Regions from separate parts of the Homo sapiens genome. Here region 2 is linked to region 1. The links are contacts of gene promoters, found by promoter capture Hi-C in human tissues and cell types (Jung and others, 2019). All regions are on one chromosome and are shown on one strand. The core of a region is centred on a gene start or on the middle of the fragment in contact, and the rest is flanking DNA. Distances in the headings are between cores, read along the strand shown.

Region 1 (5,576 bases), core at 3,023-5,522:
CCAATAAAAAAAAAGGAAAAAAACCTACAATGAACATCCTGCTCAATAATAACACTGAAAACTTTCCGCCTGAGAGAAGGAACAAGACAGAGATACCCATTATCACTACTCATATTCAATATTATACTGGATGGCCTAACCAGTGTAATAAGGCAAGAAAATAAATAAAAGGCATAACGATAGAAAGAAAGAAAGAAAGAAAGAAAGAAAGAAAGAAAGAAAGAAAGCTGTGATTTTTCATAAATGATATGGTTGTATAGATTTTTAAAAATCTGAATTAATCTACAAACTATTAGAATCAATAAATGAATTCAATAAGATTGACGTATACAAGATCAGTGTACAAAAATCAGTTGTATTTTCATATGTGAGCAACAAACAATTAGAAAATCAATTTTTTAAAAAATATATGGTTAACAATAGCATCAAGAAACATCAAACACCTAGGAATAAATCCAACAATAGATGTGTAAGACATCTGCACTTAAAACCAAAAGTTGCTACGGACAGAAAGACGTCTTTTTTTTTTTTTTCTTTGAGACAGAGTTTCACTTTTGTTGCCCAGGCTGGAGTGCAGTGGCACGATCTCGGCTCATGCAACCTCCACCTCCCGGGTTCAAGTGATTCTTCTGCCTCAGCCTCCCGAGTAGCTGGGATTACAGGTACCTGTCTCCACGTCCAGCTAATTTTTCGTATTTTTACTAGAAATGGGTTGTCATCATGTTGGCCAGGCTGGTCTCGAACTCCTGACCTCAGGTGATTCACCCACCTTGGCCTCCCAAAGTGCTGGGATTACAGGTGTGAGCCACTGCACCCGGCCTCAGAAAGAAGTCTTAAGCAAATGGAGGGATATGCCATGTTCATAGATTTGAAGACTAAATGCTGTAAAGAAGGCAATTTTTCCCAAATTAAGCTGTAAATTAAAGTCACAATCAAAAATTCCAGCAGGTTTCTTTCCTGCTGAAATTCAAAAACTGATGGTAAAATTCATGTAGAAATGCAAAAGATCCAAAATAGCCAGAGCAATCCTGAAGAACAATAAAACTGGAAGATCTACACTACAGGTGCCAAGACCTACTATAAAGCTATACTAGCTAAGATATTGTAGTGTTGGCAAAAAAAAAAAAAAAAAAAAAAAGACATTGTCAGCTGGAACACAGTCACCTGATTTATGACCATGACAACACTGCACTGCAATGAGAAAGGAAAGGTCTTACAATAAATTGTGCTGAGTCAGCTGGATAGCCATATGGAAAATAATATTTCTTGACTCATATCTCATACCATATGTTAAAAAAAATTATAGATGAACTGCAGACCCAAATGAGAAAGATAAAACAAAAATATTTTGGAGAACACCTAGGAAACATTTTTCATGGTATTGTAATTAATAACCAATTGCTTCTTAAACAGAATACATATAGCACTATCCATAGAAAAAAATGATACATTGACTGTATTAAAATTAGAAATTCTGGTCATCAAAAGACACCATTAAGAGAATGAAAAGGCAACAAGTGGAGTGGAAGAAGATATAAATAAAACATATTGCTAGCAATGGTCTCACATCCAGAATATTTGAAAGAGTACTACAAATCAATAAGCAAAAGACAGACAACCCAACAGAAAAACAGGCAAAAGACTCAGACGTACACCCACATCCATCCACAAAAGAAGATATCCAAATGGCCGAAGTAGCCAACTTCATTAGTCAACAGAGATATTCAAGTTAAAACCACATTGCATTACTACTATACACCTTCCAAAATGGCTTAAAAAAAATTTTAATTCCAAAAGTGTAATGTCAAGGATGTGCAGCAACTAGGATTTTCATAAGCTGTTGGTGAAAGTGTAAACTGAAACAACCTCTTGAAAAACTATAGAGATAAACATATGCATAGCATTATGACCTAGCAATCCCACCCCTCAATATGTACCCAACATAAGTGCATACATATATTCACCAGGAGACACATATTAGGATGTTCACAGCAACAGTATCTCATAACATCCAGAACCTGAAAACTCAAATATCTGTCAGCTTATGAATGGATAAACAAATTGTTATATATCTACACAGAGGAAACGCATTTCTGGTACATGCAACATGGTGAATCTCAAAAATATGTTGAGCAGAGAATCCAGACACATAAACACATGCACATGATTCCATTTACATAAAGTACAAAAACAGGCAATGAAATGGATGATTCTCATAAATATGATGTGGAGCAAAAGAAGCCAGACACAAAAGAGTAAATACACAAGATTCCATTTTCATAATGTATAAAAAAGCAAAACTAATCAATTAGAAGTTTATATAATGCTTACCGTTTGGAAAAGCTGGAAGAGAGGAGCACAGAGGTGGTTTCTGGGGTGCTCGTAATGTTCTGTTTCTTGATCAGACGAGTATTTATTAAACTGCATCCTTATGGTATGTGAATTTTTCTCTCGTTTTTTGGTCTTTTTAATTTTTTATTTCAATCGCTTTTGGGGTACAAATCGTTTTTGGTTACACGGATAAACTGCATAGTGGTGAGGTCTGAGATTTTAGTGTACCCGTCACCCAAGTTGTGTGCACCGTACACAATACTAAGGTGTGTACATTATTTCTCAATAAAAATGTATTTTTAAAAAGTAAAAGGATATGCATGCATACAAACTAATAATAAACATTTGGCAAAAACATGCCTAATTAAAAGATACAGAAATGTGGTGTGGGGAGGGTAATGGGGAATAGAAATAAAGGGTCCCTTCTGCTGCCCCATGACCCATACACGCCAGTTAGCCCACGCGGGGCAGCTCTGAATCCAAGTTGGCCTCTAGCCTGTGGGATGGGGAGAGAGGTAAGCCCAGCCCAAACATTTGTGGCCTAGGAGAAAAAAGTTCAAATACAGATCCACATACCATATATCTAAAATATTAAAAGTTATAAACCAAGTTAACAAACTGTTAAATAAAATATGTTATTCTTGCTCACCTAGACATATATAGACAAACACACCCCAGCTTCATAATGATCAGGAATGCCAGATTCAAATTTAGAATCCTCAGACTCTCCCAAGCCCCTGGCCCAATCTTCTCTTCCCAACTCAGCTAACACCCACATTGCAAAAAACCTCAGAATTGCATGTGTGGACACCCCAAGATTTATAAATTGCATCCAAACCCTGACAACCAGCCATTCCTTGGGCCTAGAAGTGCACACCAGCAGCACAATCTTCCCTTGGGCAGTTGCCCCTGAAAAAAAGGCCCACACAGGTCTGGGAAGCAGGCTGAGGCCATTTGGGCAGGGCCTTAGAGAGTGGTTTCTAGCTGGGTGCACAGACTCTGAATGGACACATCCCCTTGGGCCCACGTACTCCTTGCCTCATGAGAAGGACACAACCAAAGAGGATAAGGTTAAGAGCCTCTATTGCCAGTTTAAGGGCAACACTAGAGACAAGAGTGCCCTATTCTCCACTTACCCACCCCCACCAAATTGAAATAAGAGCTGACACTTCTGCTACACTTTACGGTTTACAAAGCACCTTCACAAACAATACTCTTAATCAATCCCCACAGTCTTGTAAGCTTGTTACATATCACAATTTGAGAGATGGGGAAACTGAGCTAAAAGTGACTTGCCTGAAGTCACACAGTTAAAACCTGAGTACTCCTAGGTCTCCAGTGGAGGAGTTTCTCCTCCGAATTTCAAAGGTTGTACTCTTTCCATGACTCAACACTGCCATGCATCCCCCAGCTTTGTAAAGAACCCAAGGGCTAAAAAGGAATTGGAAATTGTAAATATGTAGTTGAAACATTTTGGAAAAAAGACCATAGTCAGGGAAGGAAATCTAACACCAAATACAGAAAAGTTCTGGGAAAGAGTCTGGGCCCAGAGCAAAAATCATCACTGGGACAAAGACTACTATGTAGGGTAGCAATCCCAGCTGGGTCGTGGGGACTCCATTCCCACTCCAAACCACAAAATGAGTGCCTTCAAAACATTTAAGCAATCCTCACCCAAATTCCACACAAATTACATGGAGGGGGGTCCTGGCTCCACAGCCCTCCTTCTCTCCACTGAAAATACTTTATCAATGACAGGGCAGCATAAAGCCACAGACCTCCATCTGCTCTAGGACAATCCAGACAGCAGCGTGGCACCAGGCCCAGGTAAGGCCCGACCCTCCTCCAGCAAGGACCCGCTAAGGCTATGCCTCCCTCTAATTAGCAGGGCCTGGCTCAGGGCCTGGGCAGTTATTTAGAGAACCATCGCCTGCTCCCAGCAGAGATATCCATAAGGCTGGGGTGGCAGGCACTGTCTGCCCAAAGTCAGCTGCCTGAAGCTGCCGTCTCCTCATTCCACCATCCCAGGACCCCTGCTGCCACCTCTGCACCCCCAAGCTCAGCAGCATCATGTCACTTGCACACACAGCTGCAGAGTACATGCTCTCAGATGCCCTGCTGCCTGACCGCAGGGGACCCCGCCTCAAAGGACTGCGTCTGGAACTGCCCCTGGACCGGATAGTCAAGTTCGTAGCTGTGGGCTCCCCCTTGTTGCTGATGTCCCTGGCATTCGCCCAGGAGTTCTCCTCTGGTAAGTTGCTTCCAAGACCCAGTGCGCAAGAGAGACTCCCCCTCATGTCACTCTCTGCATGGGCTCTGAAGTGAGATGGTGCGCACAGTGACGGGATTCCATGGCTTCGGGCTGGGCTGGATTATCCAAAAGGCAGATGGTGCATGAGTTCAGGGCACCAGCAAAGCAGAGGCACCAAAAAATTTTGAAAGTCATCTCCAAAATGTTACAGTAAAAAAAAAAAAAAAAAAAAAAATTGTTGTAATTTTAGTATTCATATATTTTATGTCATTTCAAATGATGAAAGCTTTATTTTGGCTTTCATTATGGATGAAAGAAGTTGACACTCCTGGTAATGTTTTTAGGGCCTTAGACCTCTTCATCTTAGCTGGGCTGTCGCCAAGTCTCTTATTTGCTCTGGGCCCTCTTCCCACCCCTAACCCGCCAACTCCAGGGTTATTGACTTGAGAACATGTGTTAAGTGCCTGAGGGCCATGCACATTGGAGATGCTGCATAAACCCACTGCTTCCTGTCTACAAACCCCAGCCGCACACACAGACATTAGCATACACATACATCTAGGGTTTCAGGTGCTAGATTCAGTCAGCAAATCCACTACCTTTGTTAAAGAGAATGTGGACTTCCTGAGAACTGAGACTTCTGGCTTTCCTTTCTGGCAGTGCCATTAGCTTACTACATTTCCCAAACAGGTGTGCCAGCCTCCCACCGCCTCTTTATTCATCCACAACCAGGGCAGAAGAAATGGCTCCCACTTCTTCCTCTTTCTGGAGAATGATGTGAAAACAAAAAGGCAGGAACTCTCCTCCAAGTCCACTTTCCTTTCGGCATAATTTGCCCACCCTTTCTCTTCATTTAGGCTCGGAAGCCCAGGCAATTCATCCTCAACATTTTAGAGTCTAAAGGATGTCAGTTATTTCAGGAAAGAGACATCACCATCAAACCGCAAGCCTTCTGGTACCAGACTACAGGAGCACAAAAAGCCCAGGGGGTGCT
Region 2 (5,036 bases), core at 2,022-4,521, 130 kb before region 1:
GCTTTTTACTTGTGAGGATAAGAGTTATAACTTCCAACCTCTCTGAGCTCAAACCATCTCTTATTTTTTAAAACAGATATGTAAGTTAATACATAAGTGTTTGTTGAATTGAAAATGTTTGCCATTTTGGTATCTTAAGAGCTCAATGTCTCTTCCTCCGGGACAGCAACAATCAAGCAAAGATACAGGTGATCAAATCACGGGGTGGAGGTGGAAAATCAGAAGAAACCAAAATGTTGCCAGAGTTGAAATTACCATGGGTTATCTGTGTTGCTTCCTCTCCTCTCCTCTATCCTCTTCTGTCCTGTTCATTCTCTAACCCATGCCTCTTCTGTGTTTGATTTCTCTTCTTGTTGCCTAATAATATCCTATGCTCCCTCCTCTTTAAGTCATTTCCATTGGAAGATACATCCCTAAATCCCCTTTTATTAAATTTCAAAACAAAAAAGGGTCTCTAGATACATAAATATGTAGGTAGATAGATAGAAGGTACAGAGATATGCTTGTGTATACCTATTCTATTTCTGGGAATAGTTGCATCCAGGAGGAAGAACATAAGCATGGGTGAACTGATGTGAAAGGAAACCTTATTTCTACTGTATACTTTTTTGTACTGTTTAATTTTTTACCATGACATGTATTCTCAAGAAAAATGTATTCCTTCTTAAGTGGAAGCTGTTAATCACCCACCCATAATCTAATTACTGCCATCTGCAGAAGAAAACAAATCCTACAGCAAACATCTTATTCAACAGTGAAAGCCTTAATGCCTTTACCCTAAGGTCAGAAACAAGACAGGGTCATCCATTCTCATCTCTATTAATCATTGTATTGGAAGTCTTAGACAGGACACTGAAAAAAATAAAATAGATAAAAGGTATAAAGACCATTAAGGAAGAATCAAACCTGTCTTTATTTGCAGATTACATGAGTATATACAGAAAAAACAAAGTACAAATTCTTAGTTTCTCTTTTGTCGAGTTTAGCTAACAATTAGATTTCATAAGTGAAATAACAAAGATGCTAGATACAAATTCAGTATACAAAAAACAACTGTGCTACTACATACTACTAATAATTGAAAATTAAATTTTAAAAAGTTATTTAAAATAAAGTAAAAGGTATGAAAGGTATGAAATTCCACTTCGAAACAAGAAAAGCATGTCTGTTTTCCTCATTACTATTCACCATTGTAATGGGAGAATACAGCACTTTGGCTCCATGTCAACTTCTCTCAAATTAGTCCCACTAAATTATTGTCACTTGATCTTCAAATACACACGTACAAATATAGCCAATACAATTCAGGGAGGAGAGAAGGTCTTTTCAATAAATGATGCTGATGCAACTTAATATCTTTATGAAAGAAATAAAACAACTGCACACCATACATGATAACTGATTTAAAATTGATCTAAAATCTAAATTTTAAAGGAAAAATCATGAAGCTTTCAAAGGAAAACCTGAGAATGACTTTGTGACTATGTAGTAGGAAAAAAATTAAACAGAAGAAAGCATGAACAGTAAAAGAAGTGGACAAATGAACTTTATTCAAATTGAAATTGAAATATCATTATCAAAGGACATAATTAATGAGTAGTCATGGGGCAAGCCAGAGACTGAGTAAAGATAACTGCAATGTGTGTGTCTGAAAAAGTACTCATATCCAGATTATACGTTTTAAAAAACTAATCAATAAGAAAAAAGAATAACAACACTTTTTTTTTTTTTTTTTGAGATGGAGTCTCACTCTGTCGCCCAGGCTGGAGTGCAGTGGCGCGATCTCGGCTCACTGCAACCTCCGCCTTCTGGGTTCATGCCATTCTCCTGCCTCAGCCTCCCAAGTAGCTGGGACTACAGGTGCCCACCACCACACCAGGCTAATTTTTTTGTATTTTTAGTAGAGACGGGGTTTCATCATATTAGCCAGGATGGTCTCGATCTCCTGACCTCTTGATCCGCCTATCTTGGCCTCCCAAAGTGCTGGGATTACAGGTGTGAGCCACCGTGCCCAGCAACAACACTATTTTTAAGTAGCCAAATGACTTGAACAGGCACTTCACAAATGGTGATGTCCAAATAGCTAATGAACATATAAAAAGTGCCCAACAAGGCTGGGTGTGGTGGCTCACACCTGTAATCCCAACACTTTGGGAGGCCAAGATGAGAGGATCACTTGAGCCCAGGTATTTGGTAACAGCCTGGGTAACATAGTGAGACCTCATCTCTACAAAAAATAGAAAAAGTGGCCAGGTGTGGTGGCATGTACCTATAGTTCCAGTTGCTCAGCAGGCTGAGACAGGAAGATAGCTTGAGCCCAGGAGTTCAAAGCTCCAGTGAGCCATGATCACACCATCGCACTCCAGCCTGACAACAGAGCAAGACTTTGTCTGTTAAGAAAAGGTCAGGAGTTCGAGGCCAGCCTGGCCAACATAGTGAAACCCCGTCTCTAGTAAAACTACAAAAATTAGCCAGGTGTGGTGGCAGGCTCCTGTTACCCCAGCTACTCGGGAGGCTAAGGCAGGAGAATTGCTTGAACCTGGAAGGTGAAGGTTGCTGTGAGCCGAGATCATGCCACTGCACTCCAGCCTAGGCGACAGAGCAAGACTCCGTCAAAAAAAAAAAAATCATTATTTATCAGGGAAATATCTAAAAGACTAAAGCAATACTGTACTACACACCCAACGGAGTAATTAAAATGAAAAATACTGAAAATAAGGATGAAGAGTATCCTTTTCTGGAATTTATTGATGGGAGTGCAAATCAGTTTAAATATTTTGGAAGACAATTTGATAGCATTTAGAAGCCTAAACATATGCCTACCTTGTGACCCATAAAATCTACATCTAGGTATATACCCAAACAAAAATAAGTGTATATTTCCAGCAAAATACATGTTCAAGAATGTTTATAGGCCAGGCATGGTGGCTTATGCCTGTAATCCCAGCACTTTGGGAGGCCGAAGCAGACAGATCACGAGGTCAGAAGTTGGAGGCCAGCCTGGGCAACATGGTGAAACCCTGTCTCTACTAAAAATACACAAATTGGCTGTGTGTGGTGGTGGGTGCCTGTAATCCCACCTACTTTGGAGGCTGAGGCAGGAGAATGATTTGAACCCGGGAAGTGGAGGTTGCAGTGAGCCGAGATCGTGCCATTGCACTCCAGCCTGGGCAACAGTGCGAGACTATGTCTCAAAAAAAAAAAAAAAGGAATGTTTATAACAGCTTTATTAATAACATGTAGAAATTGAAAACAAGGCAAATGTCCATAAAGAAGATATTGATAAGCAAATTGCTCTACATTCTTACAATGGAATACTAAAATAAACAGCAATAACCAAGAAAACTGTTATGGATGAATCTCACATGACTCTCTATGTTAAGTGAAACGTAAGAAAGTAAATGCACTATTTAACATTTATATGAAGTTCAAGCACGAGAAAAATGAAACTGTGATGATAAAGTAAGAATAGTGAATATTTCCAGGAAGAGCATGGGGAGTAGTAATTACTGGGAAAGGGCAGGCAGGAGTACCCTGAAATGATAAAAAATCTGCTATATTTTCATTTGGGTGGAGGTAAGTAATCATAGCCTTATAAATGTGAAAAAAAATCATCGAGCAGTTAATGTTTGTGCACTTCACTGTAAAATTTATATTTCAATTTAAGAAGGAGTAGGGTGTTTTCATTGTACTGATTCTCCACCATTCCCAGTGCACCCTCAATCCATGTGTCTTGAATTTCATCATCATTCATCTCCCTTAGCATCAAAACACAACCCTCCCCTACACTTTCATTTCCTGAATTCTATCCTCGTTAAACCAAAAGATTCCAAAGGAAGAAAGCTAAACATTAATCCGAACTTCCCCTTTTTCTAATAGAAGATAACTTTTCAAAGTTTGTAAATTAAACTATCTTCCAGACAGTTCATATGCCATGACTTCTGAAATAATTGTTACCATTACTAATGTATTCAGATCAAAAAAATTACTCTCATTCGTTATACAAAGTTGTACTTCCACTTACCCAATGCTGTGAATATATGACCTCTCCTAAGACCACCGTCCCTTCCCTTTATGCCCTATTGTTATTAATAGAAGGTCACAGATATATGCAATGTCTTAACTATATAATGGCAATTGCCTCCCCTAACAACTAGTTGGCTGCCGTGGTTCTAATGGCTCACTTATCCAGAGCTGTCTATTACTAATTTACATTATTCAGACCTTTGAGGTGAGGCTCCAAATTCTGTCTCCGTTAATCTTCAGATGAAGAATAAAGCTTGTATCTAACAAATTTAACTCCCTCAACTCTGTTTATCTCTCCCTTAGAAGGCCTTCTATTGTAAGCCTTCACTCAAGGCTCTATACCATCTCCATGGGCACCATCCTTGATTCTATAAGGAACCTAATCTACTTCTCACTCACACACCCCAAAATTCTTTAAAATTTTCTCTTATCTTTTTGTCAAGACCACATCAACCACATTTTTCACTTCCAACACTCTTGCAAAAATGTTATTCCAAAAATTAACCTTTGAAAAGTTGCATGACATCACTATGAATATAATTAGATATCTTTAAATGCAAAAAAAAAAATTTTAAATGAAATCAGTCAGGGAAACGATGGAACAAGGAAGTGTAGCTGAAGAAAAACACAGCAGATTGTATTAAAATTCAAGAGCCTGGACTCTAGTTTCAGCTCTGGCATCAGGTACATGTGTGTCCTTTGGCAGCCTACAAAATATTTTTGAGTGTGATGTATTGCATGAGGAGACTGGAGTAAATGATTTCATAAGCCTATTCAAGATTAAACCCTGTATAACAGTAGAAACTATTCTCATAAAATAACAATTGGAATAGTTGGTGTGGATAAGCAGTGCAGGGTGTAAGTGCACTTAAGAATACATTTAAAATTTTTCTCTAAGTATAGGAGAGAAAGCAGTGGCATTTGTTCCCTCACTGAAAAAAAGAAAAGAAACCCCCTGATTAACAAAGGTTTGGATTCCCTTTCTCATTCATTTTTAAGAGACTAATTTT

Evidence for each region. The method cuts DNA at HindIII sites, captures the fragments that hold promoters and counts their contacts. A contact is called where the count stands out against the background at its distance.
Region 2: a fragment that was not itself captured here is called in contact with the fragment with the promoter of PANX3 in region 1 in 1 of the 25 tissues and cell types used here (H1 embryonic stem cells).

The regions. Positions count from the first base shown.
Region 1 is chr11:124,607,156-124,612,731 of GRCh38, forward strand. PANX3 (pannexin 3) reads left to right here and starts at 4,273. Exons shown (of 4, transcript NM_052959.3): 1 at 4,273-4,582. The coding sequence starts at 4,402. The HindIII fragment of the contact is 5,182 bases long and covers 329-5,510 here.
Region 2 is chr11:124,475,977-124,481,012 of GRCh38, forward strand. No RefSeq gene overlaps it. Among named protein-coding and RNA genes, the nearest start is that of OR8B8, 33 kb to the left of the region's middle. The HindIII fragment of the contact is 5,845 bases long and covers 350-5,036 here.